3 separate regions of the Homo sapiens genome follow, and regions 2 and 3 are each linked to region 1. The links are contacts of gene promoters, found by promoter capture Hi-C in human tissues and cell types (Jung and others, 2019). All regions are on one chromosome and are shown on one strand. The core of a region is centred on a gene start or on the middle of the fragment in contact, and the rest is flanking DNA. Distances in the headings are between cores, read along the strand shown.

Region 1 (2,769 bases), core at 176-2,675:
GTCAGTCACTAATCAATGTTATTTCTGTAAACCAGTGAGAATTCCTCACAAACAAGTTCCTATTAGTCCACTCCCTGGCCCCCTTTTTTGCCTTTAAAATCCACTGTTAACTGCTAATCGGAGTACACATTCAGGGCGCCTTGAATTTGTGCTCAAGTGTGGCCCAAATAAACTCTCTACTTAGAGAAACTGTGTCTCCGCTCGTTTTCAGGCCGACAGTTTCCAAAATGTTAGTATTCAGCCTAACATGAGAAAAGTCACCATATAAAAGTGAGGGGGGAAAAGCAAATACAGGATAATCTCAATTGTATATAAAATTTATATACGTAAGGACAAAGATACATAGTAAAAAAAAAATTCTGGCAGGTATTAAGGCTGAAAAAATTAAAACAGTCCAGAGCGGTCTGGCTCAGGCCAGCCTGGGCCTGCCGAGTAGCTGGGACCTCAGCCACCGCGCCTGGCTAAGTATTAATGAATCTGTTTTAGAGATAGGGTCTTGCTACGTTGCGCAGGCTGGTCTCCAACTCCCAGGCTCAGGTGATCCGCCCGCCACAGCCTCCCGAAGTGCTGAGCCTCCCAAAGTGCTGAGACTACAGGCCTGGCCGCCCGCCCGCCAGCTTAATTCACGTAAATTCCAGACAAACGTAGAAAGTGGCTCCTTTAGTAAGCCACTTGCGGCTGCTGCTCATCAGGGTTCGCCTGGGGCCACTGAGACCACGCGCCGGTGCCCGCCCTCCCGCTGCGGTCCGATTTTCTGAACCAACCAGGCGCTTCCGGGCGCCTTGCCCCAGACGGGCCCACCGCCTGCGCGGGCCGAGGGCGGCGCACCTGCCCCTGCGCTTCCGCATCGAAGGTGAGGTCGGAGGAAGAGAAGACCGCAACCCCCAAGCTCCCGCGGCGTGGGGTCCGGGGGGGGACACGAGGCGGGGCCACCAGGACGCCGACAGCCTCACGTCTCTGGGCCCGCGGCGCGCAAGGCATGCCGGGACCCGTAGTCCCGCGACGTTGCGACTCACAGTGCGCGATGGGAGTGGAGGAGAGCGGCTCGCGGTGCATGCCGGAACTCGTAGTCTCGGGATGCTGGGTCTCAGCGCGTGATGGGGTAATGGCACGCAGGCCTGCGTTGAACGCTGGGACTCGTAGTCCCGCCATGCTCTGTCCGCGGTGCACGCCGGGATACGTAGTTCCGAGCGCGCCAAGACCGTCACTGGGACTGGGCGACAGCGGCCCGCGTTGCATGCCGCTGCTCCACGGTGCCGGCGCTCCGAGGAAAAGTAGGTAGGGCTCAGGAACGCAGTTCTTCACGGCCGGCACGCAGGGTTGGTCCCAGGACGGAGCCGGCTCCGGCCCCGCGCGGCGCTCGTATTTACACGCGCACGTACGCACGTACGCGGCGCCCTTGCGTGACGTCACGCGCCCTCCAGGAAGTCGGCGCGGGCTAGGCGACGGGTGGAAGCCGGTACCGAGAGGAACTACAGCGTCGCCGCCTGGGTTGTGTCGCCGCGGTAGGCGCTGCGCTCTGAGCGCAGCGCAGGCCCCGTACCGACCGCCCGCCCGCCCTCTGTCCGCGATGGAGGTGCCGGCCGCGGGTCGCGTTCCTGCCGAGGGCGCCCCGACGGCGGCTGTGGCCGAGGTGCGCTGCCCGGGGCCCGCGCCGCTGCGCCTGCTGGAGTGGAGGGTGGCGGCGGGCGCGGCCGTGCGCATCGGCTCGGTGCTGGCCGTGTTCGAGGCCGCCGCCTCCGCGCAGTCCTCCGGGGCCTCTCAGTCCCGTGTAGCCTCCGGGGGCTGCGTGCGCCCCGCGCGGCCGGAACGCAGGCTGAGGTCGGAGCGCGCGGGCGTGGTGCGGGAGCTGTGCGCGCAGCCGGGCCAGGTGGTCGCCCCAGGGTGAGTGTGCTGAGCCGGGCGGGGCCGAGGGCGGGCGGCTCCGGGGAGGGATCCTGGAGGACCCCCGGGCTGCTGCGTCCGCGGTGGGCAGGGGCGCCCCTGGTGAGGGAGCGATAAAGCGGGACGCAGGCACTGCGCTTCTCCCCTAAAACTGGATAGTCACCACCTGTGGTTTTACCAACGGGGAGCATTTTGAGATAAAAGGAAAGGGTCCTGCGTAGCGACACGAAGTTACTGTTTGGAAAAGCTATGTTTGTTTCTTTCTTTCTGCAGTGATAGTCCCCGCCCCTTCCTTTAGCTCCACCTTTGTGACTTAGGAAAACTCATGGGTGGCTGTGAGCACAAGAGTCATCAGGCAGGCTCCAGACCTGTTATTGAAATATAAACTGTTGGGTGTGTGCACATCTTTAAATTTTTGTAAACTTTGTGAAACGCAGTTGTAAAACCTGGTGCAGTTCTGTTTCGTGGCTAAGGAACGGGCGGAACCCAGGCCTGCAGCGAAGGCAGTAGCCCCGTGGTTGACCACAGTGGGCATTGTCGCAGGCTGCTTCAGGGTGACGTGGGCGTTGTGACAGACTCCACAGCTCTCAGTAGCTGTGCTCTGACCCCAGAAGGGGATATGTTTCCGTAGCACCGAAGTGTCCAGCCATGTTTGAATCTACCCTTGTGTTCTGGGATGGGCGGGCAAGTGGACACGCGTGTGCGCCTGGCTCTGGTAGTTTTGATTGTGAGAACAGAAACTCCAGGGAGAGGTGGACACTCCAGCCCGCAGTGGGCCGGGCGTGAGCTCCCTCTGGGAAAGGTGCCGCTCCTTCTGGGGATGCCACTCTCTTCCCTCCTCGGCAGCCGCGGCTCCTCGTCCCTTTGGCTTGCCCTGACCCTGTG
Region 2 (2,769 bases), core at 150-2,649, 320 kb before region 1:
ACCCTGTGTGAGGGGTGTCCTGGGTCTGGAGGTGTCTGTGTGAGGGACCCTGTGTGAGGGATGCTCTGGGTCTGGAGGTGTCTGTGTGAGGGGTGCCCTGGGTCTGGAGGTGTCCGTGTGAGGGACCCTGTGTGAGGGGTGCCCTGGGTCTGGAGGTGTCTGTGTGAGGGGTGTCCTGGGTCTGGAGGTGTCCGTGTGAGGGACCCTGTGTGAGGGATGCTCTGGGTCTGGAGGTGTCTGTGTGAGGGGTGCCCTGGGTCTGGAGGTGTCTGTGTGAGGGACCCTGTGTGAGGGGTGCTCTGGGTCTGGAGGTGTCTGTGTGAGGGGTGTCCTGGGTCTGGAGGTGTCCGTGTGAGGGACCCTGTGTGAGGGATGCTCTGGGTCTGGAGGTGTCTGTGTGAGGGACCCTGTGTGAGGGGTGCTCTGGGTCTGGAGGTGTCTGTGTGAGGGGTGCCCTGGGTCTGGAGGTGTCCGTGTGAGGGACCCTGTGTGAGGGGTGCTCTGGGTCTGGAGGTGTCTGTGTGAGGGGTGTCCTGGGTCTGGAGGTGTCCGTGTGAGGGACCCTGTGTGAGGGATGCTCTGGGTCTGGAGGTGTCCGTGTGAGGGACCCTGTGTGAGGGATGCTCTGGGTCTGGAGGTGTCTGTGTGAGGGGTGCCCTGGGTCTGGAGGTGTCCGTGTGAGGGACCCTGTGTGAGGGGTGCCCTGGGTCTGGAGGTGTCTGTGTGAGGGGTGCCCTGGGTCTGGAGGTGTCCGTGTGAGGGACCCTATGTGAGGGATGCTCTGGGTCTGGAGGTGTCTGTGTGAGGGGTGCCCTGGGTCTGGAGGTGTCCGTGTGAGGGACCCTGTGTGAGGGGTGCTCTGGGTCTGGAGGTGTCTGTGTGAGGGGTGCCCTGGGTCTGGAGGTGTCCGTGTGAGGGACCCTGTGTGAGGGGTGCCCTGGGTCTGGAGGTGTCTGTGTGAGGGGTGCCCTGGGTCTGGAGGTGTCCGTGTGAGGGACCCTGTGTGAGGGGTGCCCTGGGTCTGGAGGTGTCTGTGTGAGGGGTGCTCTGGGTCTGGAGGTGTCCGTGTGAGGGACCCTGTGTGAGGGGTGCTCTGGGTCTGGAGATGTCTGTGTGAGGGGTGTCCTGGGTCTGGAGGTGTCCGTGTGAGGGACCCTGTGTGAGGGATGCTCTGGGTCTGGAGGTGTCTGTGTGAGGGACCCTGTGTGAGGGATGCTCTGGGTCTGGAGGTGTCTGTGTGAGGGGTGCCCTGGGTCTGGAGGTGTCCGTGTGAGGGACCCTGTGTGAGGGGTGCTCTGGGTCTGGAGGTGTCTGTGTGAGGGGTGCCCTGGGTCTGGAGGTGTCCGTGTGAGGGACCCTGTGTGAGGGATGCTCTGGGTCTGGAGGTGTCTGTGTGAGGGGTGTCCTGGGTCTGGAGGTGTCCGTGTGAGGGACCCTGTGTGAGGGGTGCTCTGGGTCTGGAGGTGTCTGTGTGAGGGGTGCCCTGGGTCTGGAGGTGTCTGTGTGAGGGACTCTGTGTGAGGGGTGCTGTGGGTCTGGAGGTGTCTGTGTGAGGGACCCTGTGTGAGGGGTGCTCTGGGTCTGGAGGTGTCCGTGTGGATGCTGGTGGTGAGGTTCACACTACAGTTATCTAAGATGTTACCATTGGGAGAACTGGGTAAAGATCACATAAGATCTCGGTGCTATTCCTGACAACTGCATGTGAGTCTACAATGATCTCAACATAGAAAGGTAAACATTTTTAAAAATCATTCTTCTACCCGTAAGCATTTGTGACTTATAGAACATGCTACTGTGCTCTGAGATAAATACTCAGTCTCCGCAATCATCTTACTTGGTTGCCAACTTACTTTGTTGGTTTTTGTGGAGTATTTTTTGGTGTTTTTGAAGCTGTGACCTCTAATCCAGAGGTCTGTTTCTAGCTGTGTGGTAGAAGTTTCTCACGCCCATTGCACTCCGCTCTTGGTCTTGCAGGTATGCCACCATATACACCATGTTCCCAGTGTTCTCCTTAGTGCTGGACCAGGACGTGAAGCCAGAGATGGCGATGCTCTACCCGGAGCTGTACAAGGACCTCACCAAGGTACGGGCCTCAGGCAAGCTGTCTGCCTCACGACTAGCACCCACATCTAGCATTTTACACGAGTGAGAAACAGGCCAGTCAGGAGGCATTTCCAGGCATTTTGTGAAAAACGATTCTCTGTCCTTGAAGATGTTTTTTATGTCTCCTAATTGTTGTTGGCATTTTCTCTTTGAGTTAAACTTCAAAAGGGGAAAAACATCTCAGGGAAAAAAATTTCTCAAATGTTTGCAATAAAGCTCTAATATCATACATACAATTAGAATTGTAAAAGATATTCTAACCATTTGTGGAACTTTTGTGAAGTGAGCTCACCAAATGTCAGAGAAGATCTCACTGTGTAATTTCTGTAGAAAGGCTCCCCCGGACAGCGTCACTGCACCTGCTGCAGAAATAGCATTCCAAAGCTGGGGAACCCATGGGCTGCATGTTTCCTGTGTATTTCCAAGTTTGTCAGTAGTTGTGGATTTCAGAATTATCCCTGAAAAGTGATAACATGTGTCTGTCCCTAGGGTCCATAGACTATTTTTGCAGTGATGTCACCAAGAAAAAAATCCACCCCAGAAAACTTCAGTCACCTGAAACTCTGAGAAAGATGGATTTATTTGGCTTAAAACTGTGCTCTGTTAGGATTAAAGGAGGCTTTGAATTTATCATATTCTTTACGACAGCATATTTTATAGCATAGA
Region 3 (2,769 bases), core at 113-2,612, 270 kb before region 1:
TGGCTGAGCGAGCCGGTGAGGATCAGGGGACTCAAAAGTGAGGAGGTGGCACTTTCAGCAGAGGGGCCATGCCATGACCTTCCGTTAAGGGATTTTGAATGTGCTCTCCGCGATCATTGCTTAGAATCCAGCTGTCTCCCTGCTCACCTGCACTGTCATTTAGTGAATCCTCCTTGGCAAAGAGCCAGGCCCTCCGACACGGCAGCCAGGGAGTGGGGTCACCGAGCTCTGTGGTGGTGTCTGACGTGACATGAATCAGCCCAAGCGCCTCAGAATCGTCAAGAAAGTTACTGGGAATATTTTCCCTTCATGTAAATATGATCCCTTTGAATAGTTAAATAACTCAGATTTGAATACGGTTTAGGTGGGTCATGAAACCAAATTCATTGGGAGCTGGGAGGGAGGGGCTCACAGCCAGGACAGTGGCCCCCGGCGTGTGGGGCTTGGCCTCTGGGGGCAGCTTGACCCCACACCTTGCCCTTCTTCTAGGAGGAACAAGGGAACTTTATCCACTACCCGCCCTCCAAGGACCTGGGCGAGGGATCCTAATGAAATTCAAGCATTTGAGCTTTCGTTTTGTCATTTGTTTGATCAGGGAAAACGCATGCTTAGGTGAGCCCTTTTTGTTTTTTAATAAAGCTTTATGGTGTTTCTTTGCCTCATCGAATCAGGTTTTATTGCAATACTTCAGTTTAAATAAAGGCCCTCGGGTGCCCCAGGCGTCCGTGGGCCTCTGCATGCACTTCCTGCTCTCGCTGTGGGCGGAGTCTCCTCCTCTTCCTCACTTCCCCTCACGCCTGGGCCCCCGTCACAGAAACGTCAAGGGCTACGGCCCCTGAGGACTTGCACACAGAGACCTGTGAGGTCCGCCTCCCCTTTCCTGCCCCGTTTCATCTAGAACCTTCCGGTGATCTGGCTCTAGTACCCCGTGTGGCGCAGCTCTGGGCTCCGTCACTGGCTGAGCAGCCAGTTCAGGGCTGAGTCCTGTGGGAGGATGGTGGGGAGGCCCCAAGACTTGCTCTGTTAATTGCTAGGGTTTTAAAAAATTCTTCAGAATTACCTTTCTACCAGCAAATGGTAGTTCAGCTGTGGGATCAGCTGTCTTGGAAATAAATACTCTTTTGATTGGGAAACAGGAAGTGTAGGAATCTGTACATGAATCAATTGCAGTTAAGCCCCCTTTGAGGTCTGGACAGTGAGGGGAAGTGTGTGGAGCAGGTGGGGCCTGAAGAGCCGGTTGAAGGCCACGGATGCCTCCGAGAGGAAGTCGGGGTGTGGGAGGGAGGCTGGGCCCCCGTGATCGGATCCACGCTGCCATCGTGTTCCCTCAGTTCCGCTGCTGTGCTTTCGGGTCTCCTGGAGTTGATGACTGGTGTGAGATGGAAGCTGGTTCCTAACATAATGTTGTTTCTGCTCCAACAGGCGAGAGGGCTTCTAGACAAATAAGCGGGCCCAGCAGTAAGTGTGGGTGTGAGTTCCTGGGCCGGTGTATGTAATGTGGCGTTTTTGGCTAAGGAATATCTTTTGGACAACTTTTGGTGAGAATGCAGAGTAATGAACAGGTGGCTCGGCGTGGCACCTCAACGGGAACCCCCCAGGAGCCGCAGGCCTGCGCTCGACAAAACCCCCTCGTGGGTCCCCCACCGCGCCTTCCTTCTGTCCACCGTTGGACTGCGTCCCTGTGCTTCCCCCGAGACCCCCAGCCGCAGAGCCAGCCACGGCTCCGCGGGTCTTCCGCAGCGCTCCATGCGGGGCAGACGTCAGGGCTGGCCTGGCACGGTCACCCAGGCGTGTGGGGCGTGGGGCACAGGGCGACCTGCCTGTGTGGCCTGTTGTCCAGCGGGTCTGATGCAGCCGGCTCAGGGGCTTTGCACGGGCCACGGAGGGGCCACCGTGACGCCCAGGCGGAGCTCTCAGAGGGCTACAGTTTGCCTGGCCCAGAGCCCCCCAGGTATCACCAGCAGATCAGAGGACTTCAGATTCTCCTCGGAAACCTCACCTTCTCCCGGAAGCTGCTTTCCAGGCTCATTTTTAGAAAGTTGGTCACAGAAGTTTTAGCGTTGGGGCCTGGTGTTTGCCTGAAGCATCCAGTGAGCATGGAGCCTGGGGGCGGGGGGCACAGTGGATGCCAGTGAACATGGGTGGTCAGTCCCAGAGCTGGCGTCTTGCAGCTGGGGCAGATCCTGGGGATGGTGTGTGTGTCCTGACCAGAGGCCAGGCTGGAGGCTGGAATTGGCGTCAGGATGCCCAGCTCCAGCTCCACCCCAGTCCCTGCCTGTGGCTCTGGGGAAAGAAAGACCTCCTTATTGATTTATTGATTTATTGATTTGACAGGGTCTTGCTGTGTCGCCCAGGCTGGAGTGCAGGCTGGAGTGATCTCAGCTCACTGCAACCTCTGCCTCCTGGGCTCAAGCAATCCTGCTGCCTCAGCCTCCCAAGTAGCTGGGACTACAGGCGTGCGCCACCATGCCTGGCTACTTGTATTTTTTGTAGAGATAGGGTTTCATCATGTTGCCCAGATTGGTCTTGAACTTCTGACCTCAGATGATCCGCCCACCTCGGCCTCCCAAAGTGCTGGGATTATAGGCGTGAGCCACCGCGCCTGGCCACCTCCTTGATTTATTGACATTACTGTTCTCTCTCCGGTGCAGGAGACTGCGTGGCTCCCGTCCTCTTGAGGGCATTTCTTTACGATGGGGAAGGCGGGACTGGGGCCTGGCTAGCACCATCCCCAAGGCGCTCAGCCTCAGCGGAGGGGCCCTTCCCATA

Evidence for each region. Contacts are between HindIII fragments. The study calls those that stand out against the background at their distance.
Region 2: a fragment that was not itself captured here is called in contact with the fragment with the promoter of CTDP1 in region 1 in 4 of the 25 tissues and cell types used here (H1 embryonic stem cells, dorsolateral prefrontal cortex, lymphoblastoid cells and 1 more).
Region 3: a contact is called between a fragment that was not itself captured here and the fragment with the promoter of CTDP1 in region 1, in 3 of the 25 tissues and cell types used here (dorsolateral prefrontal cortex, mesendoderm cells and spleen).

Annotation. Positions count from the first base shown.
Region 1 is chr18:79,678,378-79,681,146 of GRCh38, forward strand. It overlaps CTDP1 (CTD phosphatase subunit 1), which reads left to right and starts at 1,426. Exons shown (of 13, transcript NM_004715.5): 1 at 1,426-1,884. The coding sequence starts at 1,571. It overlaps CTDP1-DT (CTDP1 divergent transcript), which reads right to left and starts at 1,368. Exons shown (of 5, transcript NR_136643.1): 1 at 1,017-1,368. RefSeq lists enhancers at 551-1,058, 1,059-1,567. The HindIII fragment of the contact is 29,025 bases long and covers 1-2,769 here.
Region 2 is chr18:79,357,380-79,360,148 of GRCh38, forward strand. ATP9B (ATPase phospholipid transporting 9B (putative)) reads left to right here. Exons shown (of 30, transcript NM_198531.5): 26 at 1,975-2,083. Among named protein-coding and RNA genes, the nearest start is that of NFATC1, 37 kb to the right of the region's middle. The HindIII fragment of the contact is 5,046 bases long and covers 1-2,769 here.
Region 3 is chr18:79,405,137-79,407,905 of GRCh38, forward strand. All of the region lies in intron 1 of NFATC1 (nuclear factor of activated T cells 1), which reads left to right. Among named protein-coding and RNA genes, the nearest start is that of NFATC1, 11 kb to the left of the region's middle. RefSeq lists enhancers at 1-477, 1,668-2,261 and a silencer at 2,284-2,445. The HindIII fragment of the contact is 7,440 bases long and covers 1-2,769 here.